6 separate regions of the Homo sapiens genome follow, and all the other regions are linked to region 5. The links are contacts of gene promoters, found by promoter capture Hi-C in human tissues and cell types (Jung and others, 2019). All regions are on one chromosome and are shown on one strand. The core of a region is centred on a gene start or on the middle of the fragment in contact, and the rest is flanking DNA. Distances in the headings are between cores, read along the strand shown. Region 1 holds the start of KRTAP10-5 (keratin associated protein 10-5). Region 2 overlaps SLX9 (SLX9 ribosome biogenesis factor). Region 3 holds the start of KRTAP10-3 (keratin associated protein 10-3). Region 4 has its middle 6.5 kb from the start of PICSAR. Region 5 holds the start of UBE2G2 (ubiquitin conjugating enzyme E2 G2). Region 6 overlaps TSPEAR (thrombospondin type laminin G domain and EAR repeats).

Region 1 (4,209 bases), core at 1,344-3,843, 220 kb before region 5:
CCTGCACAAGCTCTCTTCTCTTGTCTGCCACCAAGTGAATTGTGCCTTTCACCTTCCACCATGATTGTGAGGCCTCCTCAGCCATGTGGAACTGTGAGTCCATTAAACCTCTTTCTTTTGTAAATTGCCCAGTCTTGGGTATGTCTTTATTAGCACCATGAAAATGAACTAATACATCAGGAATGAATAAAAGGTTGCCACTACAGAATCTGTAGATATTTAAAGGAAACCAAACAAATAATGCAAACAACTCTATGTCAATACATTCAACAGCTTAGATGAAATAGGCAAATGACTGGAAATGCATCATTTATGAAAAGGGATACAAGAAGAAATAGAAAATCGGAATAGCCCTCTATCAATTGAAGAGACTGGACTCATAATTAAAACCCTTCCCACAGAGACAATGCCAATCCCGAATGGCTTTGCCATTGAATTCTACCAAGCATTTAGGGGAGAAATAATGCCAATCTAACCCAAACTTTTCCAGAAAACCGTGGGGTAGACACAGTGTCGGCGAGGGTGCTAGGGATTAGGGGACGGAGGCTGAGGCCTCACGGGTGGCAGGGATGCCCTTGGTGGGCTCTGGCCATGGACACAGACTCCTGGGATGAGAGGGGGACTCATGGAGGAACACCCACGCCTTGACCCTGAGATGGCCTTGCAGGGAGGGTAACTGAAAATTTACCCACTGGGGACAGTTGCCTACTTACTAAAACAGTTCCAGCCACCACCGCAGCCCCTGGAAGGCCATCCCCCCAGAAAATCCCCCAGGTCTCAGCAGGGCCTTGTCCACCTGTGCCCTCCAGTGTCGCCCATGTCAACCTCACCTAAGAGGGGCCTGACGCACGGTCCTGCAGGTGCGGACTCTGGGTCCTGAAAGCCCATGCGGAACCTGGTGCCCCCAGAGGAGGGCCTGGGGCAGTGCCAGTTTTGGGGAATCATGTGCATCCATCCACCCACTCCATGATGCTTTCGTCCTGATCGAGTCCCTTGTCTCCTGCGCAGGTGCAGCAGCCCCTCCCTCTCCCCCCGCATTGCTGCTAAGCGGGCAGAACTCTCGGGCGGGCGGCACACAGGGAGGGTGACCAGGCCTGGAGGCTGCGGTGCCCGGACCCCAGGCCAGCTTCCTGGAAGGTGACCCTGCAGGGTGGGCTCTCCCAGGTGGGACAGTGGGTGGGACAGTCCTGGGGCCTGGAGAGCCCCACAGCCCAGGGCACGGCAGCCAATGACCAGGCTCAGGAAGACCCAGGCATGGAGGCTGAGCCGGGACTGAGCCTTCCTGGGCGTGGCTGTGAGTTCCACCTGGTGACCCCCTGGAGGAGTTAGGCCACTGTCCCCCGTGACTTCTAGGTTAAGTCACTCATTCATAGAAACAGTCATGGCTAGAGACCAATCTGAGCTCAAAACCATGTATCCCCAGGAGCACTACAGAAAAAGAGAATCAGGCGACCAAGGGGAGTTTATTGGGGAGCAGGAGGAGGTGCTGACAGGTTCAAGTCGAGGCCAAGTGACATGGGGCAGAGAAGCTGGGAGGGAGGACAGGGGACCCAACAGGCAGGTGGGCCCCTGCTGGGAGGCAGGAGCTGGGGAGCTTCGAGGATGGAGATTCCTGGGAGTATGGAGGGGGGGGTCACCTCAGCACATGGGGGCCCCGTCCCAAGCGGGGGCAACCTCCTAACCCGAGTCAGGACCAGTTGGCCCTGGGGGATGTGCACATCAGCAACTGGACTCCTGGCCTGAGCAGAGGCCTCAGCAGGCCAGGGGGGAGCACGCGGGGCGGCAGAGGAGGGACACGCAGGAGGCCGGGCGGCAGCAGCTGGCCTGGTAGGAGGAGGCAGGGGCACAGCAGGAGGAGATGGGCAGGCAGCAGGCGGGCCTGCATATGGGGCGGCAGAGGAGGGACACGGAGGAGGAGGGTCTGCAGCAGGAGGTGGTGCAGCAAGCCGGCTGACAGCTAGACTGCTGGCAGCATGAAGTGGAAGCCCCAGAGCAGACGGGCACACAGCAGATGGGTTTGCAGCAGACAGGCTTGCAACAGACAGGCACGTAGCAGGACTGCTGGCAGGGGGAGGAGGTGCAGCAAGTCGGCTGGCAGCTAGAATGCTGGCAGCATGAAGAGGAATCCTCAGAACAGGTGGGCACACAGCACACGGGCTTGCAGCAGACAGGCACACAGCAGGACTGCTGGCAGGAGGAAGAGGCACAGCAAGTTGGCTGGCAGCTAGACTGCTGGCAGCATGAAGAGGAATCCTTAGAGCAGGTGGGCAGGCAGCACACAGGCTTGCAGCAGACGGGCACGCAGCAGGCCTGCTGGCAGGGGGAGGAGGCGCAGCAAGCCGGCTGGCAGCACGAGGGCGTGCAGGAGCTGGTGCAGCCTGATTGGCAGGGGCTGGGCTCACAGGCCGCCTGGCAGCAGGGGCTGGACACACAGCTCACTGGGGTGCAGACCAGGGTCAGGCAGGGGGCGGTGCCGCAGGGGGGCTCACAGCAGCTCTCTGGGCAGTCGTCCACTCGCCAGGAGTCAGAGCAAGCGCTGGAGCAGACGGACATGGTGCACGCGGCCATGCTGGGGTGGGGAAGACGTGAGCTGGGAGCTGGGGGAGGTGTGAGTGAGTGAGTGTGTGAGTGAGTGAAGGAGGGAGTGAGTGAGTGAGGTGCTCAGGGCTGTGGGGCTTTTAAATCCCTCCCTGGCGTGTGTTGTCCCGACAGGAGGCTCCACAAGCTTCTCTTCCTTGTTGGTGTTTAGAGCTGGTGGCTGGAGATGCGTCATTCATGCTGGTTTATCTGTTTGTTTTTCCCTCATTAAACTTGTGTGTATGTTGCAGGGCCGTGTTTCTTCATCGGTTCTTATTTTAGCCCCAGAAATGTGGTGGAAAATATTTCAAGCAAACTTTTGTTGAGTAGAGGTTTTAGAGATGAAGACTTCTCTAAAGGGAGGAATTCTAGTTTCACCTATCCTGTGTTTGGACTGATTGGATATATTTTATTACTTTTAGCATATTAAAATATAAATAGGTAGAAAAATATGCATTTCTTATAAAATGCAGCTGGCACAGAGGGTACGATGAAGCTAAGTGGCCCTCTCTTCAACCCCTTGTGCCTCGTAAGGGGAATGCTCAGAGATTTGGTATCTGGTGGATCTGTGCTTTATCCTTGTCTCTTCAGCTCTTCCATGCCACCCTCAGAGCCCTCTCTCTGTTTTATTTGAAGCTGCGCTCTGGGTTTTCTCCATTTTTATTTCCTCATGGTGACAGATCAAGTACTTTTTCACATATGGTGATTTTAGGACATACATTTTAAGATTTCTTTCTTGCCTAAAAATGTACTCAACTTTACCCTCACACTTATATGATAGTTTAGCTGGGTATATAATTCTGGTTTTAAGTCAGAATTATTATTATAAATAATAACAAAAAATCTGTTTTCTCAAAATGATGAACCTGTGTCACCATTTTTCTGTAGTGTCCAGCGTTGCTGATGAGAGACTGAGGTTGGTCATTTGTCATTTTTTATAGTTTGTCTCTCTCTCTCCGTTTAACTCTCTGGGAACATTTGGTTTTCTTTTTATTCTTCTTTTGTTTCTATGCGTGTGCATTATTTTACTTTCTGTGGTTAGAATTCATTGAGCCTTTCAATGTGGAGACTCAGGAAGTGTTTTGCGCTCTTAAAAATAACTCATCTCTCAAGGTCTTTCCTTTTGTGACTTTAATTTTGTCTCACGATGAATGAAATACATTTTTGGCTCACTGTAATGATGTTATGTTGAGCATTTAAACGTTTTTCCCCTCGTTTCACTGGACATCAGTTAAGCTCTGCTCATTGGTGGCAGTTCATTTGATTTTCTGAGTAAAAGACTATTTTATTCCAGGGCATTGGGGTCCTGATCCAGTTTACATTCTAATTTGTTTCCATCTGTTTCTCTTTTCTACAAATATATAAAGGATTTTAAAGAGCCTCCCTTTTTGTTAGACAATTTTGATTTTATTTTTTATAACTCTTTGAATATCCTTTCAGTGATTATTAGTAGAGGTTGTGCGAGAACTGTGTGCTTAACCCACTTTCTGGGACTGAAGGACTCGATGCTCCTTTCAGGAAATGACAGGAAAGCCAGGAAGGCTAGGATGACGTCATATCAGCGGGTGTGCTACAGACATGCACGGCGCAGGTGCGGTCTCCACATCAGCCACCGCGTGAGGGGTGACTCTG
Region 2 (4,299 bases), core at 1,800-4,299, 160 kb after region 5:
ACTGTTCGGGTCAGTTTCCACTGGTCTTAGATTCATTTTTCTTTTGAAACAATTTCAAAACTACAGAAAAGCTGCAAAATCAGCCCCTCCCCTTTGTGGTCGGGAGGGAGAGGTTGGGATGCTATGGAGGAAAGTAGGTCAACCCAGGCACACCAGGAAGCTGTGGGAGGGGATTAAATCCTGCGGGAGCCCTGGGCCTTGGAGGTTTCACACCGGCTCCTGAAGTGAAGTCTGAAATGCAGAGCGCAGCGACTGCCTTTCTCCAGGCAGGGCTTGCTTCTGCTTTGTTTTTCATTAGACATGGTGGATTTGTTGGACAAGCCAGGAAGGTCTGCATGAATTAAAAGAGATACTGGGAGATGTGTTCTGGGGAGAATGCAGCCGAGGCTGAACCGTCTCGGGAAATCAGTTAAGGCCGAGGAAATGGGGGTGCCCTTGAGTCCACTCTGTTTCAGAGCAAACTGGAGTCAGAGACGCAGCACCCAGTGCCCTCTCCACCTGTCCCCACCTGCACGGCCCTGCAGGCTCATCCCACCCCTGCCCCTGTCCCCCCAGCAAATGAGCCTCCTTTCCCCGCCCACCGGGCAGGTGGCTGGGCTCCGCGTGGACCAAGCACAGGGGCACCTGTGGAGTTCACTTTTGGAGGCTCCCTGAGAGGGCCGCTTTGTGGGGTCCAGGGATGAAGCCTCTGGTCACCGAGCACATTGTCGGGCCTGGCAGGGGGCAGGGAGCACGTACGTCGCTGGGCCTGACGTGACCACACAGGATCTTGGGGATGTCCCCCTAAGGGCCTCTGTCCTGTTCGTGGCCCCCTTCATGAGCCGTCGGGCATTCCTGCATGGCTTCACTGCAATGACTGCCCTGACAGTCATTCGGGGCATGAGTGGGGAGGAGGCCTCCTTGTTGGGACACCTGCTTTCCGGGGCAGGCTGGGGTGAGTGGCCAGGCCATCACTGCGGGGGGACGCTGCTGAGAGAGCCTCCTGAGGCCGGGCCGAGGCATGCTGCAGGTGCCCCTGGTGCTGTCCAGAGCCGGGAGTCTGAGAGGCTGGCACAGGCCAGACCAGTTGCAGTGACTGTGGCAGCTCTGCAGTCAGGACCCGCCCCAGCCCATTCTCAGGTCATGGGAGTGCCACCTGGACACGTTTTGCTCACTCCCGTGTTCTCTTTCCTCAGGTGCAGAGGCCAAGACCGTTTTGCCCAAGAAGGAGAAAATGAAGCTGAGGCGTGAGCAATGGTTGCAGAGTAAGTCCATGCCTGCGTCTTGAGGCAGCTGCCGGCCCAAGTCCCATCCCGTGGGCCCTCCTATTCCTACAGCCTCACATCTGGCCTTCTACATCAGCCACACTCCCCGAGGAGTGCCCAAGGGGATCACCCAAGACACTTCAGAGGCTGCTGTGGGGGCCGAAGGACAGTGGAGGCACAGAGAGGTTGGCCATGAAGACTTGGCAGCATGGCCAAGCTGGTCTGGCCTGTTGTGGATGGCACTGCCACCCCGTCCGTGTGGGCACCTGCAGAGCTGGGCTGCCTCCCTTTGGAGGACGGCCTTGGGAAGCTGCTGCTCTCGGCTCCTTGTTTGTAAAAATTACCTATTTTTGTTCCCCACCGTGAAATTTTTTATTGTGGAAGTAACCTGTGCTCGTGGAGTTTTTATGGTTCAGAAGTGCCTGCAGTGGTATGTGAAATCCTTCCAGGCCTTGCCCGCGGTGAAAACAGTGTCTGCGCATAGCGGCGTGGGTGTGGGCAGGGCCCCTGGTGTCCCCAGACCCTTTCAGGCCTGTGGCTCCCTCTTTTCTGAGGTCAGCCTTGCCACGTGCTCCCAGCTGCACGTCTCCGCAGGCTGAAAGCCACACTTCCCACTCAGGTTGTTTTGGAGTATCTCCTTATTTTTCGTGATGCTGGATATTTGCCAGTGTTTTTCTAAGATTGTTTCTCGTCAAAATTATTTTGTATTTTTCGGTTATCTTTTTAGTGTGATTCTGCTGACTTTGTGAAATTAATTTGGAATATTTTCTTTTTTATGTTATCTGCTTTATTTTTTCCTTGGAGGTTTTAAAGAAAATGTATGTTTTTCAGAGGTAGGACCTAGAAAACTTTGTCAGTTTCTTTTGTGATTATTAGTTTTATGGTTTCTATCCCTTTTTGGATATTTCTTAGGGAAATGATTCATTCCTCCATTTTCTTTTTCACAGTTCCTAGCATAGCTGTGAAAGTGGATTTGGACGGGCTACTGGACTGTGGCCATTTGGACCCTGATTTTCTAGGCTGTAATTCTTTGATGATGTGTAAATTTTATTCCATGGCACTTGGTCCTTTTTTTTTGTTTTTTCACAACTTGAGTCAATTTTGGCCACTCATAAAATGATCGAATTTGTCTGAGGATGGTGTCTCATGCCTGTAATCCCAGCACTTTGGAAGGTTGAGATGGAAGGATCACCTACGCCCAGGAGTTTCAGACTAGCCTGGGCAATATAGCGAGACCTTGTCTCTACAAAAAATGTAAAAATTAGTCAGATTAGGTGGTGTATGCCTCTGAGCCTCTAGTCCTAGCGACTTAGGAGGCTGAGGTAGGAAGATCGCTTCAACCCAGGAGTTTGAGGCTGCAGTGAACCGTAATTGCACTAGTGCACTCCAGCCTGGGTGACAGAGTGGGTCCTTGTCTCTAAATAATGTTAATGATCAAATTTAGTCAGATCTCAATCTTCATATGTTAGTTGCCTTCTTATTAAATATTCTGTTTTCTTTATCGTTCTTTATTTGTATCTCCACCTTCATTTCTGATTAAATTAAGAAGTTTTGTCTCTTCCATTTAATAATTAATGTATTTAATAACCAATTCTACTCTTTTGTCTTCAAAATTATTTGTTTTTATTTTGATCACTCCCGTTTTAGCTTTCTTTGGGTTTCAGTTACTCTGCTTATCTGTTTGTATATGTTTTGTTCAGGAGTGAAAGGCTGTAAGTTATCTCTAAATACAGCTTTAGCTACATTTCCCAAGTTACTTTTACTTTGTATTTTATTATGAAAAATTTTATTTAGGAAAGTGGGAAGAATTTTATAGGGAATACCCTGTACCCACCACACAGATTTTACAATCTTTATTACATAACCGTTCATCTAGCAGTTTCTGTCCATCTACCAACATGGGTTTTTAAAAATGCGTTTCAAAGTAAATGGCAGACATCAGTACACTCCACCCCAAATAATTCTGCTAGAGTTCATGGTTCTTTTTTTTTCTTTTTCTTTTGAAGATTGTATTTACATAAAATGAAATGCAAATCTAAAGTGTGCCATTCAATGATTGCTGACAAATGTTGTAGACACCTGTGCAGCTGAAATCCTGTTCAGGTTATGGACCATCACCACCATTCCCCGACAGTCACGCACCCCCCCAGTCAATTACCTCTCCCACTGGCCCCAGAGGTAACAACTGCTGTGTCACCCTTTGTCGTCCACAGTTGAGCTTTTCTTGCCTTAGACTCTGTATAAATGGAATCATGTAGGATGCACTCTTTCTGCATCTGGCTGCTTTTGCTCAGCGTAATGGTTTTGAAACCCATCCAGGCTGCATGTAGCAGCAGTCCATGCCTTTTGATTGCTGAGAAGTATTTCATTGTATGAATACACCATTTGTTACTCACTTTCCTGCTGATGGGCACCTGGGCTTTTTTCCATTTTTAGCTACTGTGAATAAGGCTGCTCTGAACATTCTTTACAAGTCTTTTTGTGGACATGTTTTCGTTTCTCTTGGGTAAGTGCTGAGGAATGGAATGCTGGGTCATAGGGTAGGTGTATGTTTAGTTTTATAAGCAGCTGCCAGACGCTTTTCTAGAGTGGTTGTACACTCACACTCCCACCAGAGCCTGTGAGAGTTCTCCTGGCCCTCAGCTTTGCCAACACATGGCCTGCCGTCTCCTCAGCCTCGGCCGTCTGGTAATCATGAAATGGTATCTCACGGTGGTACTCATTTCCGTTGCCACCAAAAGAGCATTTACATGTGCTTACTGTCCATTTGTGTTTCAGCGTCAGTGAAATTCATTTTTCATGAGGCTTTTTGTCTTTTTATTATTGAGCTCTAAGAGTTCTTTGTCCTAGAGTCCAGTCTTTGGTTGGATATGTGTTTTACAGATGTTTTTCCCAGACTGTGACTTGCCTGTTCATTTTCTTTCTTTTTTTTTTTTTTTGAGATAGAGTCTTGCTCTGTCGCCAGGCTGGAGTGCAGTGGTGCGATCTTGGCTCACTGCAAGCAACACCTCCTGGGTTCAAGCGATTCTTCTGCCTCAGCCTTCTGAGTAGCCGG
Region 3 (4,633 bases), core at 1,712-4,211, 240 kb before region 5:
GCTTGCAAAGGAAAATGACAGTGACAAGGGGCCTGTGTCCTTCTGTCCTGGAAGCCTGTGACACTCGGACAGGGACTTCCAACTGTGTATTGCATTTGCACAGACATGCCATCGAAACTGCAAAGGAGTAAATGACTGCTGGGACAAGTTAATAGATACAGCGGTTCAAAGGAAAAGACCTACTCAAGAATTAAGGAATCCTTGTGAACAACAGGGGAAGGTTACAGAAAATTTCCAGTTATTCTTAAGAATTAAGAAGTCGTGCCGGGCACGGTGGCTCACGCTTGTAATCCCAGCGCTTTGGGAGGCCAAGGCAGGCAGATCGCGATGTCAGGAGTTCAAGACCAGCCTGGCCAATGTGGTGAAACCCAGTCTCTACTAAAAATACAAAAATTAGCCAGGTGTGGTGGTGCACACCTGTAGTCCTAGCTATTCAGGAGGCTGAGGGAGAAGAATAGCTTGAACCCGGGAGGCAGAAGTTGTACTGAGCGGAGATTGCTCCACTGCACTCTAGCCTGGCAACAGAGTGATACCCGCTCTCAAAAAAAAATAACAACAACAAAAAAAAAAACCAAAAGACCGGGTGCAGTGGCTCATGCCTGTAATCCCAGCACTTTGGGAGGCCGAGGCGGGTGGATCATAAGGTCAGAAGTTCAAGACCAGCCTGGCCAAGATGGTGAAACCCCGTCTTTACTAAAAATACAAAAAAATTAGCTGGGCATGGTGGCCTGCGCCTGTAATCCCAGCTACTCAGGAGGAGAGGCAGGAGAATCCCTTGAATCTGGGAGGTGGAGGTTGCAGTGAGCCGAGATCGCACCACTGCACTCCAGTCTGGGCAACAGAGCCAGACTCCGCCTAAAAAATAATAGAAGTTGCTCCAGGGATTCCAGTTCTGGAAACCTGTTGATGAGATTGTTTGACCCATCATCCTGCTGAAAACAATTGAAAACACTAGGAAGAATCTTCCTAGTTGCAACAGGAAACTGGAAAAGGAATAAAGAATTACAGGATTACAGGCCCAAATCAAAGACAGGGGTCTTTGCCCTTTTTGCACAAGGGAACTTCCCGGCCACCTCGTGAAAGCTTTGGAGGTTTTCAGATAAGTAAAAGGAAACCAACTTCATGAAAACACTGCTGTTACACTATGAAAAAGTGAACTGGTGAGATAGCATGTACTTCCCTAGGGAGCATGTGCCTGGTGGGACCCAGCAGGTGCATCTCGCGCTACCATAATTATGAAACAGCAGTGGCCAGAATGAGGTTTTGAGCATTTGCGGCCGGCATAATGTGACGCCACGCATCTCATTCCTGTTGGTGACAAAGCTGCAGGTGCTGCCATAGGTTTTGTCGGCTACATGAGAGGGTTCCTCACATAAGGCAAAAGAAAACACACCTGTCTTAGAGGCCTCAAAAATGCCCACAAATACTTTCCAAGGACAAAGGTGGTTACTCAGCTGCAAACAGTGAAGCACACAAGGAAACGACACCATGAGCGAGAACTGGTGGAAATGACAGAAAGCTGAAATGGACCCACAGAGACTTCAGGCATTGGGATGACCGTGCACAGATATTTGAAATAAGAGATCAGCTCTAAAATGTCTTCCAGGAATGAGAAATATTTATTTTATTTAATAAGAGAGGGCTGGTGAGAAGATGATGAGTGGGGGTCAGACAGGCAGAGGAAGGAGAGAGGGGGAGGAGCTGAGCCCAGGGAGAGGCCGGGCCGGGTGGGTGTGGGGGATTCACAGAGAAGCACCCCCGGGGCCTGGAGACGCTGAGGCTGGCAGGAGAACCCCACAACAGCAGACCCCGCACAGCGGGAAGTCAGGACTGCCTCCGCCCCTGGTGCTGTCAGCCTGGATGCAGCTCAAGGCCAGAGTCCCGAAGCTCCCACCCCACGCGGCACGTTGAAGTTCTTCCCACAGGGTTTGCCAGATATGCAAAAAAGACCTCTGAGAGGGCACATTGGTGACTTTATTTGTTGACAGACTGATCACTCACATGGGGCAGGACACAGTGACCACCGGCTGGCCAGCATGGAGATGAGGGTGTGGGAGAGATGCATGCCTGGAGGGAATCGGCATGAAAGCTCAGCATTGCTGGCTGGAGGTGCAGTGGCTATGGGCAGAGGAGACTCAGACAGGGCTCAGGGCTGCAAGGATTTTCGGAAGTCAGAGATGGCCCTGGAACAACTCTGGAGAAACGGGACCTGCCCGTCAGCAGCTGGACTTCTGGCCTGAGGAGAGGCCGCAGCACGCGGAAGAGAGGCGGGAGCACGTGGGGCGGCAGAGGAGGGACACGCAGGAGGCCGGGCGGCAGCAGCTGGGCTGGCAGGTGGAGGCAGGGGCACAGCAGGAGGGGATGGGCACACAGCAGGTGGACCTGCACACGGGGCGGCAGAGGAGGGACACGGAGGAGGAGGGTCTGCAGCAGGAGGTGGTGCAGCAAGCCGGCTGGCGGCTAGACTGCTGGCAGCATGAAGAGGAAGCCCCAGAGCAGACGGGCACACAGCAGATGGGCTTGCAGCAGACAGGCTTGCAGCAGACGGGCACACAGCAGACTGGCTTGCAGCAGACAGGCACGCAGCAGGCCTGCTGGCAGGGGGAGGATGTGCAGCAAGCTGGCTGGCAGCTAGACTGCTGGCAGCACGAGGGCGTGCAGGAGCTGGTGCAGCCTGACTGGCAGGGGCTGGGCTCACAGGCCGCCTGGCAGCAGGGGCTGGACACACAGCTCACTGGGGTGCAGACCAGGGTCAGGCAGGGGGCCGGGGCGCAGCAGCTGGTGGCGCAGCAGGGGGGCTCACAGCAGCTCTCTGGGCAGGCGTCCACCTGCCAGGAGTCAGAGTAAGCGCTGGAGCAGACGGACATGGTAGACGTGGCCATGCTGGGGTGGGGAGGAGGTGAGCTGGGGGAGACGTGAGTGAGTGAGTGTGGGAGTGAGTGAGGGAGTGAGTGAGTGATCGTGCCAGGCCTCTGAGTGGTCGGAACCTTTATACCCCTCTGTGTTGATTGTGCTGCCCCTGCCTGGCTTCGAGAAGCCTTCCTCTTCCTTGTTGTTGTTGTAGGCACTGTTGTGTTAGTAGTGTTGGTTCATTGTTTGTGGATGTTCTGGTTTGTGAGGCTCCTGACTGGAGTTAGGGCTTCCCTAATGTGGGCTTGTCCACAGAGATAAACTAGTAGAAATATATTGATTGCATCAAAGCACACTGCAGAAGCAGGGACAGTGGCAGTTAGGAGATATTCTGGAATTGACAGCCCTCTGCTCCATCCCAGGAGGAGTTTGCACTTAAAAAAAGACTTCTACACCTAAGGAGGGATGAGGTTAGGAGAACCTCAGTTTCTGGGCCTTGAGGAAAGGGAGAGATGTGTTCTGCTGTGGACAAGTTTGAAGATGCTCAGTTGGCCTGGCCACACGGCGAGATCCACCCTGTGGGTTGACACTGCTGGTTGTCAGTGGGAACCATGGGGCATATTTCTGCTGGGGGTGAGCCCTGGGGCAGGTGTGAGGGAATAGTGTCTTCCTGGGCAGAGATTGGCTCGCAGAGGGGAGCAGGGAGGCAGCTGCAGGCCCAGCACAGTAGGGATGGAGATGAGGGGCAAGCACCTTTGTTTCATTTCACGTTGAACTGTTATGGGGCCTTCCCCCGGTGGTGTGCACAATAGTGTTCACACCTTCTCCTCTCACATCTCGGGCAACATCACCTGCAATGGTGTCCTTGGGAGCTCCAAGGTCTCTTCCCTTATGGGCCAGAAAGTCATCAGAATGTATTAGTTCTACTGTTGGCTCCTGGACATTGTCATAGTAAATGTACAAATAAAAGGGTCTGATTGCAGAGCCTTGTCTCACAAATACCTATACACCTGTGTGTATCAGCCCATGCCTGTGCCCGGGACCATACCTGTGCGCTAGTAAGCCCCCAAAGTTCTGATCATGGATCCCTCATCTCCTCACTCTATGATCGCTATTTTCTACTAAATCTTTGAAATGGCAAAGGCAGAGGCTCTGATGATGCTCTAGGCTGCAGGGCTTTCCAAAATTAGGCCAGGGGTCCACTGAGTGCTTGGTGGGGGCCCATAGGCTGCAGGGTTTGAAGCCTCTGACCTTTGATGAGTATGGCTAAGGGCTCTGTTGGAGGACTACCTGGCAAAGTCAGACTACAGTGGAAAAATATTATTTCATAGAAATAATAGCTGGACACAGACTGGCAAATTGGATGAAGAGTCATGACCCGTCAGTGTGCTGTATTCAGGAGACCCATCTCACTTGCAAAGACACACATAGGCTCAAAATAAAGGAATGGAGGAAAATGTACCAAGCAAATGGAAAGCAACGTAAGCAGGGGTTGCAATCCTAGTCTCTGATAAAACAGACTTTAAGCCAACAAAGATCAAAAAAGACAAAGAAGGGCATTACATAATGATAAAGGGATCAATTCAATGAGAAGAGCTAATTATCCTAAATATATATGCACCAAATATAAAAGCACCCAGTTTCATAAAACAAGCTCTTAGAGACCTACAAAGAGACTTAGACTCCCACACAATAATAGTGGGAAACTTTAACACCCTGCTGTCAATATTAGACAGATCAATGTGACAGAAAATTAACAAGGATATTCAGAACTTGAACTCAG
Region 4 (4,098 bases), core at 993-3,492, 210 kb after region 5:
TTTAATGGTGTTATTAGTTTTCTTATTATTGAATTTTGGGAGTTCTTTAAGGCATGCTGGAGTCTTATCAGATTCATCATTTGCAAATATTTTCTCCTGCTTTGTTGCCAATCTCTTCATTCTCTTAAACATGTCTTTTGCAGAGCAGAAGTTTTACATTTTGATGAATTCTAGTTTATTCATTTATTTTGGCGTTGAATTTAAGAAATTTCTGCCTAACCTACAAAGATTTTCTCATATGTTTTCTTCTGGAAGTTTTATAGTTTTAGGTTTTACATTTAGATCTATAATCCATTTTGAGTTCATTTTTTATATGGCCCTGGGGTATAGATCAATGTTCCCTCTTCCATGTGGCTATTCCGTTGTTTTAGCACTGCTTGTTGAAAAGACCCTCTTTTCTTCACTGAGAGTCTTTTGTCAAAAACCAATTGTCCATGTGTGTATGGCTCTATTTCTGAGCATTTTATAAACACACTGTCTTGGTTACTACAGCTTTATAAAGTCTAAAAATCAGCTAGTGTAAATCCTCCAACTTTGCTCTTATCTTCCAACGATGTTCTGGTTGTTATAGGGCCTTTGCCTTTCTATGTGAATTTTAGAATGAGTTTGTCAAATCCTCTTCGAAAAAAAAGCCTTTTGAGACTTCAGTTGGGATTTTGCTGAATGTGCAGATCAATTTGGGGATAACTTCTGTCTTACGCACATGGAGTCTCAGCCCATGAAGATGGTGTAAGTTTTCATTTCTTATGTCCTCTTTCGTTTACTCAGCAATGTTTTCTCATTTTATGTGTACAAGACTTTCACACCTTCTATCAGATTTATCCCTAGTTCATAATTTTGATGTTACGACAAGTGTGTTGTTCTTTCCATTTTAATTTCTGGCTGTCCGTTGCTGGGGTATGGAAATGCAGTGACTCTTGGCATTGATCTTGACCTTGCAACCTTGTGATGCTCACTCTTCAGCTCCAGCAGCTTTTTGTTTCGTGAATTCCATTAGATTTTTTTGCATAGATGAACTTGTCTTCTGCAAATAAAGACAGTATTATTCTTTTCTTCCCAATAACGATGCCTTTCATTTTCTTTTTTCCTTCCTAATTGCCCTGACTAGAACCTCCTGTGCAATGCTGAATGGGACCATTGAGAGTGCTGTCCCTGACTTGTTCCTGGCCTCAGGGGAAGCACTCAGTCTTTCACAAGTAGGTGTGATGTCAGCTGTCGGGTGTTCAGAGATGCCTTTTATCAGGTTGAAGAAGTTGCTTCTACTCCTGTTTGCCAAGAGTGTTTTGAGAATGCATGTTGGAATTTGTCAAATGCTTTTTCTGTGTCTATTGAGACAATCACATTGTTCTTCTTTCAGTTTGTTAATATGGTGACTTAAATTGATTTTTACGTGTTCAATCCTTAAGACAATCCTGATATATTGGGGAAAATTCTCCTTGGTTATGATGTATCATCTTTTTAATATGTTGTTGGGTTCAATTTAGTAAGCTTTTGTTTAGGACTTCTAAAGGGGGATGCTTGTTCCTATATTCTTCTCCTGTAATGTCTTTGGTTTTCATATCAAGATCATGCTGGCCTCCTGGAAGGACTTGAGAAAAATCCCTGCTTTTCAACTTTCTGGAAGAGCTTATGTAGAATTGCTATTAGCTCTTTCTTAAATGTTGGCTGGAGCTCCCCTGTGAAGCCGTCTAAGCCCGGGGTTATTTTGTATGTGAGAGGGGAAGATTTTTAACTACAGATTCAATTTGCTCATCAGCCTTCTGCTGCCTCTCAGGGGCCCTCTGTGCCTTTCCAGGGTTCTCGCTAGGTGCAGCTCCCCTCTCTCACCCTCTGCCCTGCAAGCTGTGGCTGCCTTGGTCTCCCCGACTCTCAGCGTCCTCAACTCAGGAGATCCCTGGCTCCACCTGCGTCACCTCCCAGCACTGTGACCTGGAAACTCTCTCCGGGAGGTCGGCCGGGCCCTCAGAGGGCTCATCGCGTCCGTGTCCCATTTCTCGGGTCACGGCTCCTTTTTGTCTGATGCCCATTGCCTTGAGGACCCTGGTTTCAATAGTCTTGTCTCTTATTTAGTTGTTTTGGGCAGATAAGTACATTCAGCCCCTGTCACTCCATCTTGTCTAGAAGTGGAAGTCTACTGTCTTTTATTTCTTTCACTAGAATAGTAATTTAATACATGTTTATTGTAGGAAATCTAGAAATACAAAGATACATGAAGAAAATGGTAGGAATCACTTATAGTCTCACCGACAGCTAACACGTTTAGTGTTCTCAACAGCACAATATTCTCCATCTCTGCTGAGACCCATCCCAGCAGAGGGGTGCCCGCACGGCGAGGCCGGCACAGGCCCGCGTGGGACCCACTGCCAACGCCGAAGCCAGGGTGTGACCTCTAGCTGCAGGGCCAAGGCACTGAGGGGCAGCCCCACTCACCCCTCCTTCCAACCTCTCCAGCAACAATCGGTGAGCCCCGACCCTGCCTGGAACCCTGGGGCCAGGTCGTCTGTCTGGACAGCGGCCTACAGGGAACGCACCAGAAGGTGTGGTGGGGTGGTGCCTCCCACCAAATCCACCAAAATTTGAGGAGCAGCCGCATCAAGCCCCTTTCATTGCACGTCTGAATCCCCACGCGTGGCGTTTCCTTAGAGGCAATTTCTGAAAAAGGGATTTCTGCTCAAAGTGTGTGAGCCTGTCAGGCTCTGCCCAGTATGCCAAGTCTGCAGGACCGCGTCACATTTGACCAGATAATTATTTGGGAACAGCACCCGCATGGAGCAGCCCCACAGAAGCTTCGAGCCCACACCTGGGTTCTGGCCCATTGTGTTCACGCCCCCCACACCCCGCCCGACCCCAGCTGCCGCAGGAGGGCCGGCTGATAGAGGTGGTGCAGACATTGGTCCTCACAGCCGGGCAGCCTTGAGGGGACCACACACCGCCCCGCCCAGGGCCTCCAGCACCTCGGCTCACTGCCCCGGTTCCAGCAGGAATGGGGGCCACACAACCCGAGAAACACAGACCACGCCACTGCCGAGCTGCACGAGCTTCAGCTGCAACAAATCGCCACAGAGCAGGCAGCTGCAACATCAGAAATGGACGTTCTCACAGCTCCAGGTCCAAAGTGGTTTCACTGGGCACAATAAAGGTGTAAGGTGTCTGCAGGACTCCTCGAGGCTCCTGCCGCCTCAGCCCCCGCGCTGCCCCCTTGGCCTCCCTCTCGTGGCCAGCAGAGCAGCACAGCGCTGGTGACACGTGGTCTGGTGGGGCAGACCTCCCCTGCTAAGAACACCAGAGGCGCCTCAGTCCCACCCGGATGATCCGAGATAATCCCCCGTCTCAGGGCCTCTCACTGAGTCCCCCCTGCAAACATTCCTGCCAGGTGAGGTCACTTTCCAGGGATTGGGGCCCGGACATTCCAGGGCCATCACTCAGCCCACCACACAGTGAAAGCACAGGATGCAGTGTCACAATCAGACCAAAGAACTGTTCCTTAGCTCCTCTTAGGGGCAGAATAGAGAGCACAGGGCTGAGGAGTGGCCCCCTCATGGTCCCCCTATCTCACCTGCCTCAGGTCACCTCCAGACCCTTTAACACCCAATGGTGACATTTCAGAGGCAAGGAACAGATGGACAGAAATCAGGGATTTGTGCCTGCAGGGAGTGGTGGGCGGGGTTCAGGGCTGAGCGAAGGAAGCTCCGGCAGACAGGTCCTGGCAGGAGGCTGCAGAGAGGAGGCGGCACCTGAGCCCGAAGGGAGCAGCTGGGGAAGAGGTGTCTGGATGGGACATGCCTGCCACTGACCCAAGTCTGTTCCTGTGGGTTACCCATTTCCCACGTAGACTTCTTAAGGATGGCAGCCTGGGCAATGCCCTTGTCTCTGTCCCCAACGCACACCTGGAACTGAGGGGGGAACGCATCTGTAGTGAAAGGAAGAGAAAGAGTAAAGCTGCAGCAACTCTTGGAGGGCTGAACCTGGGAGCCCAGGGAGGTGAAAGCAGATGGAGGCCCCAGTCCTGGGGAGGTGAAGGCAGGGGCAGAGGGGCCTTGATGGTGGTGGGGCGTGGTGGGGGCGTTGCAGAAACAGCAGCCAGGCTGGTGACTCTGG
Region 5 (4,407 bases), core at 878-3,377:
TTTTTCACTTTATCATTCATTGTGTTCAACAGAGCAGCACTTCTAATTTCCTTTAAGAACTTTTCCTTTGCATTCACAACTTGGCTAACAAGAGACCCAGCTTTCAGCCTATCTTGACTTTCAACATTCCTTCCTCACTAAACTTAATCATTTCTAGCTTTTGATTTGAAGTGGGTAGAGTGCAACTCTTCACTTCAACACTTGAGCCCACTGTACAGTTACTATTGGCCTAATTTCAATGTTGTTTTGTCTCAGGGAAGAGAGAGGCCGGGAGAGAGATGGGGAAACAGCCAGTCAGTGAAGCACACACAACATTTATTAGGACTACCATCTTTTATGGGCATAGTTTGTGATGCCCCAAAATAATTACAATAGTAACATCAAAGATTACTGATCATAGATCACAGTAATAGATTAAAATGTAAGAGAGAGACACGAAGCGAGCAAAAATGGTGCCAACAGACTTGCTTCCATGCAGGGTTGCTTGTAAAAAACTTGTAAACTTGTAAAAAATGCAAGATCTGCGAAGTGAAGCTCAATAAAGCAAAGCGCGCGGGAAACTGAGGTGTGCCTTTATGTTCTGCTTTAGCAGACACTAGGTGGCGAGCGTTATTTGAACGTTTACAGGAGGCCCTGTGTATCTGCGGCTGCATATCCATGGATTCGACCAACCAGGAATACAAAATATTTGAAAAAAATAACAATAAAAAATGACGATTTAAAAATACAAGTAAAAAAAATCAGTGTAACTATTTGTGCAGCACTTACATTGCATTAGGTACTATAAGTAACCTTGAGATGATTTAAAAGTTATGAGAGGCTATGCATACATTAAATGCAAATACCACGCCACCTTATAGTAGGGACTTGAGCATCCGAGGATTCTGGTATCTGCAGCGGGGCCTGGAACCAATCCCCTCCAGATACCAAGGGAAGAATGACCATACGTGAGTGAGCCTGTATTTGCAACGTTTTGGTCTGCTTAAGCCAAACATCAACTCTTACTGGGCGGTGTCACCAATAGTTTTACGAAATCAAGCTACATGTATATTCACCACTTATTTTTTTTCTCACATTCATTCTTTTAGCTTAACTTTCTTCCAAAATTATCCTCAATCTAATTACAAAAGCAGCAGCTAACTTTATTAAGGGTTACACATCAGGTATTTTGCTAAGCACTTCACCTGCAGTATCAAGTTTAACCTTTTAAGACAAGGAAACTGCAGAGACAGAGAGAGGAACAAGGTCAAAGAGCTAACAAGCAGAGAGGCCGGGTCTGAACTCAGGCCCTGCTCTTAGCCGGCTACTATCTCGTCTCCATCGGCGACTCAGGCTCCTGGCGCTTTCAACACAATGGTATTCCAAGACTTCTCGCAGCAGTTCTTCCAAGCGGGCATTCGGTGTAAAACGATGGAATGCCGAGTGTTCCTAGGTTCTCATTTCTCCCTTCGCTCTCCTCAGACATTAGAAATATCTAATTTACCGGGTAGGAAAGCACTCAAGAGGTTTCCTCAACACTACCTAGGAGGAGTGACAGGTGGCACTGTTCAAAAACCCTTTTCCTTCATTAGAGGGAAAGCCAAAATCTGACCTTTCAAAGCTCCACCAACGAGCCTTTCCCCTTTTAACGCATACACTTTTCCCTCCTAATTCCGCAGCAGCAAGTCAGGCCTTCTTCCTCAAGCTCTCACTGCACGTTCTCAAGGCTGCCAAGAAAAGAAAAAATAGAAGAGAAAAAAACAAGCCCGCAAAGACTCAACTGTGTGTGCTCTCAACTAACACGGCGCCGGCGCTGCCTTTACTGATGCTGGGAAGGCTTCTCTTCACGACTTCACGCGTGAGAGTGGGCAGCGGGCGCAGGGCGCGGCACTCCGCGGGACCCACAGGGGGGCTCACGGTGGAGGCCCCGGGCCCGGCTCCCCCGCCAGGCTCCCTGCCCCAGCCCCGCCGGACGACGCGGGCCCGGGAGCAGGAACGCGGGACGCTGCTGACGGCCCGGGTCCCCAGACTCACGTTTGTACTCGGCCATCAGCCTCTTGAGCGCGGTCCCCGCCATGGCCCCGCAACAGCTGCGCCGAGCGACCTCGCCTCAGCCGCGCGCGTGCCTCCTGCCCCGACACCGGGGACTGCTTCCGGGCCACCGTCGCGGGCCCAGGAACTCTTCCGGGGCGTGGCGCGTGCGCGATCGCCGAGGCGCGCTGTCCGGGTGGTGGGAGCTCAACCCGCGACCGCGGCTACGATTCTCTTGGCTCCTGCCCTCGCCTTAGTCGCTCTGCGGGGTTGGTTCGGTCCCGGCACTTCCAGAGGCCTCAGGGTCCTGGTCTTGTAGAGACTTCCTGAACGGTGGCGCCTGTTCCAGTGTGTGTGCGCTAACTGCCTGTTCTGTGCCAGCCGCGCGTGGCCGAAGGGCGGGAGGACGGGGGTTGTGGAGGGGAGGATGGAGGTTGGGGAGACAGGGCGGGGACGAGATAAGAGGTCGGGGGGTGGGGAGGATGGTCGCGGGGCGGTCTGGGGCTGGAGACAAGGGGCCTGAGGTGCGGGTACGCACTGAACATTCCAACCGTCCCCAGCCGGCCGGGTTTCAGGTTTGAAAAGGTGGGAAGGTTAGCTGTCCTGGCGCTTTTCCTCCACGTGTTGTGCGGCTCCGCTGGAGTTCGGGTCCAGCACCTTCTACTCCGAGGGAGAGAGCCGCGGGGAGAGCCCTGTTCGGGCCCGCGGCTCGAACTGACCGCCGGCTCTGCCGAGCAGCCTCGACCCCAGGGCACCCCCGGGAGAGAGGGCGCGGCTCAGGTCCCTGCCCGAACCCCTGGGGTGCTGAGAGACTCCCCAGCGCCCCGCGTGGGCTCCCGGCCTCTCCACAGTTGAGGATCCTGTAAGGGGCGAGCCCTTTTTCCCATAATGGCTGTAGTGAGTGGGTGTGCTTTCCCGATTGACCCGCTGTGAGGTGAGCGATTTTAACCCACATCCTTACTGACTTCACAGCACAGTAGGTGCTTCGTGGCTGTCCGGTGCAAGGATGTATATACACACACACCTTTGCAAAAAAAGTTTGCATCTCTTGCCTGGCTGTTTGTTGCAATAATCTATCATTTGTCTTTTCCTTTCCAGCATTGCAGATGATCCCTTGAAAAGAAGTCTGATCACATTCACACTCTGCTCCGCCCATTTCACTCAGTAAAGCTGAAGTCCTGCAGTGCTTTGCTCTGCCTCCGGTCACCCCGCCATACTCCCAGACCCTCCCTCCCTCTCACTCCACTCCAGCTGCCCTGGCCTGGTTCAGAGTCCCTGACTCTTCCCTCCCCGGAAACACTTTCTGGCGGCTCTTGTCCCCGACTCTTCCCACCTGCTCTTTCAGTCTTTGCTCAAATGTTGCCTCTTCAGTGTGGCCTAGGCCGTCACCACCCGGCCTTCACCGCATACCTTTTTCTCTGCAACACCTACTCAACACACCGTACTATAGAACTTACTGGCATGCTATAAATGTATTACCCTTATCTGTTGCCTCTAACCAAAAGCGTGTTCCATGAGAGCCATGGGTCCCTGCCTACTTCTGTCTTGTTTCTGGGGCAGCCTCTGTACCTGGACATCGTATACTCTTAACACGGATTTGTCAAATCAAATGAAATTTAACAATACAAACTTCACAAGTATGCATAGTGTAGGAAAATTCCCCAAAATTCAAAATTTCAGTCTACCTCCATCTTTTCAAATGACCACAGTGCTTTATAAAATGACATGGTCCTTTGAGACTGTTTCAGAGAGTAATTTGTGCAAATGCAATGTGCAAAAAGTCACAGTGGAGGTGTTTCCTCCCCCATTCAAGAGCTGCTCTCTCTCTAATCAGACAGCACCCCACACCCCAAGGCAGTCTGTCCAGTGCTCCTAAAGGAGAGCAGCTCCCCTTTTCCAGTTATGGGAGATGTGGGCAATAAAGCATTACTGTCAATGCCGTGATGTTCACTGCAACATATGCTTGATGTTTTCATAATTTTATCCATCTTTTTCAGACATCTTACTGCAGAACACTGTATGTTTTCCAATTATTATTTTTCAGAAATGTGGTTTACAGCTTCTATCAGGATTAGCTTCAGCTTCAAGTGACAAAAGTCACTTGAAATATGAGTTGCTGAAACAAGATGGCAGTCTCTCCCCTCAACAGGACTGTTACAACACCTTATCTTCAGAGAACCAGGCTCTCTGCAACATTTCAGGGACGTCGTTCAGTACCTTATGTGGAATTCAAGCTTAGCTGGGCATCCTATGTTTTAACTGGCTAACTCGTGGAACTCTCAACTTGGATCAAGTGGTAGTGGAGTCCCAGGGACTCTGAGCAGCCAGTGTGTGATACTGCAGGGCAGCACACCCTGGGGAGGCCAACTGTACAGAATAAAATTAATGCTTTCTATC
Region 6 (4,506 bases), core at 171-2,670, 150 kb before region 5:
GATGTAGTCAAGTTGAAGTGAAGTCATTAGTGGGGGACCCTGAGCCAACACCACTTCTGTTTTTATAAAAAGGCAAAATTTGCACACGAACGGGCACCTGGAGAACGCCATGTGACGACGGCGGCAGAGACTGGGGCCACGTGACGACGGGGGCAGAGATTGGGGCCACGTGATGACGGAGGCAGAGATTGGGCAATGCCCCTGCAGGCCAAGGACACCAAAGAAGGCAACAGGCCCAGAAAACAGGACAGAGTCATCCCCCAGATGGGGACAGACTCTCCTTCACCACCATGGAAGGAACCAGCCCCACTGACGCCTTCACCTCGGACTGCAGTCCTCCAGAACCGTGAGATGTGAGCTTCTGCCATGTCACATAGCTGGCGTGGGACTCTGTCACAGCAGCCCCCGGATGTCAACACGCCCTCCAGCTCCAGCCCCCAGTGAGGGTGGAGAGTCCAGGGAAATGGGGCTGGGGGCTGGGAAAGGAGTTCTGAGGGAAGTGCCTGGGGCCTGTGACCTCCTACAGGCCAAGGGACAGGCCACAGAGATCCCCAGAGGTGGACGGAGTCCTCTGAAGAGGGGACAACCATGGCTTGGCTCTGACACACCCAAGAAGTCTGAGGCCGGAATCTGCAGATGCTCTGGGGGAGGACAGGGTGACACTCCCTGATGGTCCCCCAGGTCCAGGTGGCGCCCCACCAGGGAGGGGGCACCAGGGGTGGACTCAGGCTCTGCAGTAGAACCTGGGGAGAGGACAGGTCTTGGCAGAAGGAAGCTGTTGGCACCAGCTAGAGTAGAGCCTCTTCCAGGCTGGGGGAGCCACAGGGAAAAAGCTCCCACAATGGACAGGCCACGAGCGGGAGAGTGAGGCCGAAGCCCTGGCAAGCAGAGAGAGTGACAGCCCAGTCACCACAGGTCTCCAGAGAGGAGACTTGTCTCTCCTCCCCTTTTCTTCTCCTTGCCTCCCCCACACAGCCCCAGACAGCTCACGGCTGTGGCTGGCAAGACCACGCAGTGTGTAGAAACACCAGGCTGTGAGACAGAGAAGTTGGATGTGTGTCCTGTGGCCACAAACTTAGTAGCTTCGAACAACACGAATGGATCATCTCATAGCAGTGGAGGTCCGAAGTCTGCTGTGGGTCTCACAGGGCTAAAATCAAGGCATGGGCAGGGCGGGTTCCTTCGGGAGGCTGCAGGAGAGAATCTTTCCTCATCTCTTTCAGCTTCTGGAAATGGCTCGAGCCCTTGGTTCAGGGCTAGCAGCAGGCATCTCACTCACACCTGCCATGACCTTCTCCTCTGGCCAAATGTCCTCCTCCCTCCTTCTGATAAGGACCCTGTGGAGACACTGGGCCCACCTGGATAATCCAGGGTACTCTCCCATTAGCCACACCTTATGGTCCACACATATTAAGTTCCCTTAATTAGCCACACGTGTGAAGTCCCTGCTGCCACAAAAGGTGACACTCATAGGTTCTGAGAACCAGGATGTGGACATCATTGGCGACCATACTCAGCTGGCCACAGAAGTTCACCTCTATGGACTAAGGGGAAAAAAATCAAGCTTTTAAAAAATGAAAGTTAGTTTGCTTCAGAAGTCTTACTGAGGACTATAGACCGAGGCCTATATAGCCCAGGAGCAGTTTAGGCCTCAGTAAGACTTCTGAATAAAACTTTCTTTTTTTTTTTTTTTTTTTTTTGAAACGGAGTCTCACTGTGTCGCCCAGGCTGGAGTGCAGTGGCGCGATCTCGGCTCACTGCAAGGTCCGCCTCCCGCGTTCACACAATTCTCCTGCCTCAGCCTCCCGAATAGCTGGGAGTACAGGTGCCTGCCACCTCTCCCGGCTAATTTTTTGTATTTTTAGTAGAGACGGGGTTTCACTGTGTTAGCCAGGATGGTCTCGATCTCCTGACCTCGTGATCCGCCCGCCTCGGCCTCCCAGAGTGCTGGGATGACAGGCGTGAGCCACCGCACCGGGCCCCATTCTCTAAAAGTTTAATTTTTTTCCTTAGATGAAAATCACAGTGACCCAGATAGGACTCAGAGTGGACTGCTCAGGGACGTCTGGAACACTGCGGGGACCCAGCACCCCGGTACCAGCACAGGCCACTTGAGCCCCCACGGCTCCTCCATGGTTACAGGTGACTGAGTGACTCTCTCCTGAGTCTCTGACCTCCCACTTGGTTGAGAGTCCTGAGTTGTATTCAGTTAGTTCATTTTACTTCTTGCTGAAGGGGTACATTCTTCTGTGAGACTTTTTATGTCTTACGAAGGGGGAATTCTCCTCGTTGAAAGATACTAGGTAGGAATGGCTTCATGTGTAACCCATACAGAGTCTATACTTGCAAGTATCTTTCTAGAAGTAAGGGGTTAGCTAAAGGAGATTGAACACTGAAATGGCCAAAACTGGGATTCTCAAACATTAAGGCGTGCCAGGTTTTCTGGGACTCCAGTTGACTACATATCATGGCCCATTCTTGTACACATTTTTAAATAGTTAAATTATATCAAGGAAAAGTCAGAACTCAGAATCATCAACCTGCAAATATAGGGTTAAAATGTAGAGTCTTCTGGCGGGGTGTGGTGGCTCACACCTGTAATCCCAGCACTTTGGGAGGCCGAGGCGGGTGGATCACAAGGTCAGGAGATCAAAACCATCCTGGCTAACACGGTGAAACCCCGTCTCTACTAAAAATACAAAAAAAATTAACCAAGCGTGGCGGCGGGCACCTGTAGTCCCAGATACTCGGGAGGCTGAGGCAGAAGAATGGCGTGAACTTGGGAGGTGGAGCTTGCAGTGAGCTGAGATCACGCCGCTGCACTCCAGCCTGGTGACAGAGCGAGACTCCATCTCAAAAAAAAAGAAAGATAAATGATGCTAGTCCTTGCCTTTTCCTGAACAAGATAACGTCTTATAGGGCGAGTGATGATGCCTCTGCGGTCCATAACCAGATGTGCTCCTGCCCCCAAACCCGGATGTGATTCTGCTTTGATGCAGCTTCTGAGCCAGTTTCATGTGATCTGCACGTGCTGACCTCCCGCCACCTGCATATGAACTGTGAGCTGAAACCCGGGGCGGAGCCTCTGACAGGGCTGCCCCCGGGCTGGTGTGAGCTGAAACACGGAGCCGGAATCTCTGACAGAGCTGCCCCCGGCTAGAAACCTCACTCTTCTATAGTCCTCGGTAAAACTTCTGAGTAAAGCTCACTTTAATTCCTTAAAAGCTTTTTTTATCAACACCACAAACCTCTTTCCCATCCAGTTGGATGAAGGAGTAGCTATAGATTTAAATTTAGTTTAAGGTTTTAATTTCTTGACAAGAGTGGGTTGCACATACCAGCTAATAAGCAGATGGCCCGTTTTACCTAAAATGGATCAAACTACAAAATTAGTGATTTGTCCTCAATCTCACCCAGAAGAGAGTAAGAACTGACCTCATACATTTAAGGAACAAAGTGGGACGAAGGAAGCCTGATGTGACTGGGGTTGGGGGTTCCCATCAGGCCAAGCTCAGGAGCACGGCCCACTAGCCCGAGAGGGTGCTGTTGAGAGGCCGCTCACCAGGCCTAACATTCATCTGGTACCTGCCCCTTCTCTGCAGGGAAGGAGCTTTCCAGAATCCTGGGGAAGGTACCTCCTGAGGAAGGAGTGTGGGAAAGACACTGAGGAGAAGGCATCACACAGACTCAGGTGAGCACTCAGCATCTGGTATTTATGATATTTGCAAGAGACCTAACATCAGACAGTGCGGAGGGCCCTGTGGATGGCCCAGGCTGTGAACCCAGGAGAAACTGTGTAGAAAGGCGCATGGCCTCACCGGCTGGGATCTAGTGACGGTGCCGCAAAGGAGGCAGGCGGTCTAGTCAGGTGACGACAGTTTGCTGTGGGAGGATGTGGGGACTGCCTGGCAGGAGTTCAGAGAGCCTGCTGGCTTCTGACCTCGCACCTACGAGGGTCATAGGAGGCCACCTGCTCAGCAGCCAGTGGGGGTGCTCCAGGTGACAGGTCTATAGACCAGGGTGGGGCAGAAGGGCTGGCAGCACCCAGAGGTTGGGCAGAAGGAAGCCACACACAAAACAGGCTTGCAGCTCACAGGCACACAGCAGGCCACCTGGCAGGGGCTGGGCACACAGCAGGCTGGCTGGCAGCAGGTGGATACCCCACACAGGGGCCGGCACAGCAGAGCCACACAGGGGGCTGAGCAGCAGCAGGAGGTCCCATAGCCCTCGGGTGGGTAGCAGGTGCTGGGGACACAGCACGGGGAGCCAGGGCAGGCCATTGGGCAGCCCGAAGAGTGGCTGGTGTGGCACATGATGGAGTGTGGACAGGTGGGGGGCGCAGAGGACAGGGCTGGTCTGGAGCCTGCTTCCTTAGGTGGCCTTTATACCCAGGCTACCGGCATCCTGGCAACAAGCCCCCTGGCATCTTCCTCGTGGGTGGTTTTTCCTCCTCTGCCCTGTCTGGTTGATCTTTCTGTGTTTTTCTGTTGAGGTTACTCAGTTCAG

What was found. Contacts are between HindIII fragments. The study calls those that stand out against the background at their distance.
Region 1: the fragment with the promoter of KRTAP10-5 here is called in contact with the fragment with the promoter of UBE2G2 in region 5 in 1 of the 25 tissues and cell types used here (lymphoblastoid cells).
Region 2: a contact is called between a fragment that was not itself captured here and the fragment with the promoter of UBE2G2 in region 5, in 1 of the 25 tissues and cell types used here (mesendoderm cells).
Region 3: the fragment with the promoter of KRTAP10-3 here is called in contact with the fragment with the promoter of UBE2G2 in region 5 in 1 of the 25 tissues and cell types used here (thymus).
Region 4: a fragment that was not itself captured here is called in contact with the fragment with the promoter of UBE2G2 in region 5 in 2 of the 25 tissues and cell types used here (dorsolateral prefrontal cortex and mesendoderm cells).
Region 6: a fragment that was not itself captured here is called in contact with the fragment with the promoter of UBE2G2 in region 5 in 3 of the 25 tissues and cell types used here (IMR-90 fibroblasts, mesendoderm cells and stomach).

What each region holds. Positions count from the first base shown.
Region 1 is chr21:44,578,011-44,582,219 of GRCh38, forward strand. It overlaps KRTAP10-5 (keratin associated protein 10-5), which reads right to left and starts at 2,594. Exons shown (of 1, transcript NM_198694.3): 1 at 1,445-2,594. The coding sequence starts at 2,568. The coding sequence ends at 1,753. The region is part of intron 1 of TSPEAR (thrombospondin type laminin G domain and EAR repeats); the gene reads right to left. RefSeq lists enhancers at 1,738-2,328, 2,329-2,918. The HindIII fragment of the contact is 3,934 bases long and covers 1,075-4,209 here.
Region 2 is chr21:44,958,925-44,963,223 of GRCh38, forward strand. It overlaps SLX9 (SLX9 ribosome biogenesis factor), which reads left to right. Exons shown (of 6, transcript NM_058190.4): 3 at 1,176-1,244. Among named protein-coding and RNA genes, the nearest start is that of SLX9, 21 kb to the left of the region's middle. The HindIII fragment of the contact is 4,593 bases long and covers 754-4,299 here.
Region 3 is chr21:44,555,834-44,560,466 of GRCh38, forward strand. It overlaps KRTAP10-3 (keratin associated protein 10-3), which reads right to left and starts at 2,962. Exons shown (of 1, transcript NM_198696.3): 1 at 1,957-2,962. The coding sequence starts at 2,882. The coding sequence ends at 2,217. The region is part of intron 2 of TSPEAR (thrombospondin type laminin G domain and EAR repeats); the gene reads right to left. The HindIII fragment of the contact is 7,690 bases long and covers 1-4,633 here.
Region 4 is chr21:45,009,153-45,013,250 of GRCh38, forward strand. No RefSeq gene overlaps it. Among named protein-coding and RNA genes, the nearest start is that of PICSAR, 6.5 kb to the left of the region's middle. RefSeq lists enhancers at 2,727-3,926, 2,812-3,797, 3,798-4,098 and a silencer at 3,562-3,856. The HindIII fragment of the contact is 5,888 bases long and covers 1-4,098 here.
Region 5 is chr21:44,799,693-44,804,099 of GRCh38, forward strand. UBE2G2 (ubiquitin conjugating enzyme E2 G2) reads right to left here and starts at 2,128. Exons shown (of 6, transcript NM_003343.6): 1 at 2,014-2,128. The coding sequence starts at 2,056. LINC01424 (long intergenic non-protein coding RNA 1424) reads left to right here and starts at 2,549. Exons shown (of 2, transcript NR_109928.1): 1 at 2,549-2,944; 2 at 4,055-4,407. RefSeq lists an enhancer at 1,354-2,309 and silencers at 1,857-1,916, 1,977-2,196, 2,697-2,746. The HindIII fragment of the contact is 9,913 bases long and covers 1-4,407 here.
Region 6 is chr21:44,650,302-44,654,807 of GRCh38, forward strand. The region is part of intron 1 of TSPEAR (thrombospondin type laminin G domain and EAR repeats); the gene reads right to left. It overlaps KRTAP12-4 (keratin associated protein 12-4), which reads right to left and starts at 4,358. Exons shown (of 1, transcript NM_198698.1): 1 at 3,912-4,358. The coding sequence starts at 4,313. The coding sequence ends at 3,975. The HindIII fragment of the contact is 1,947 bases long and covers 448-2,394 here.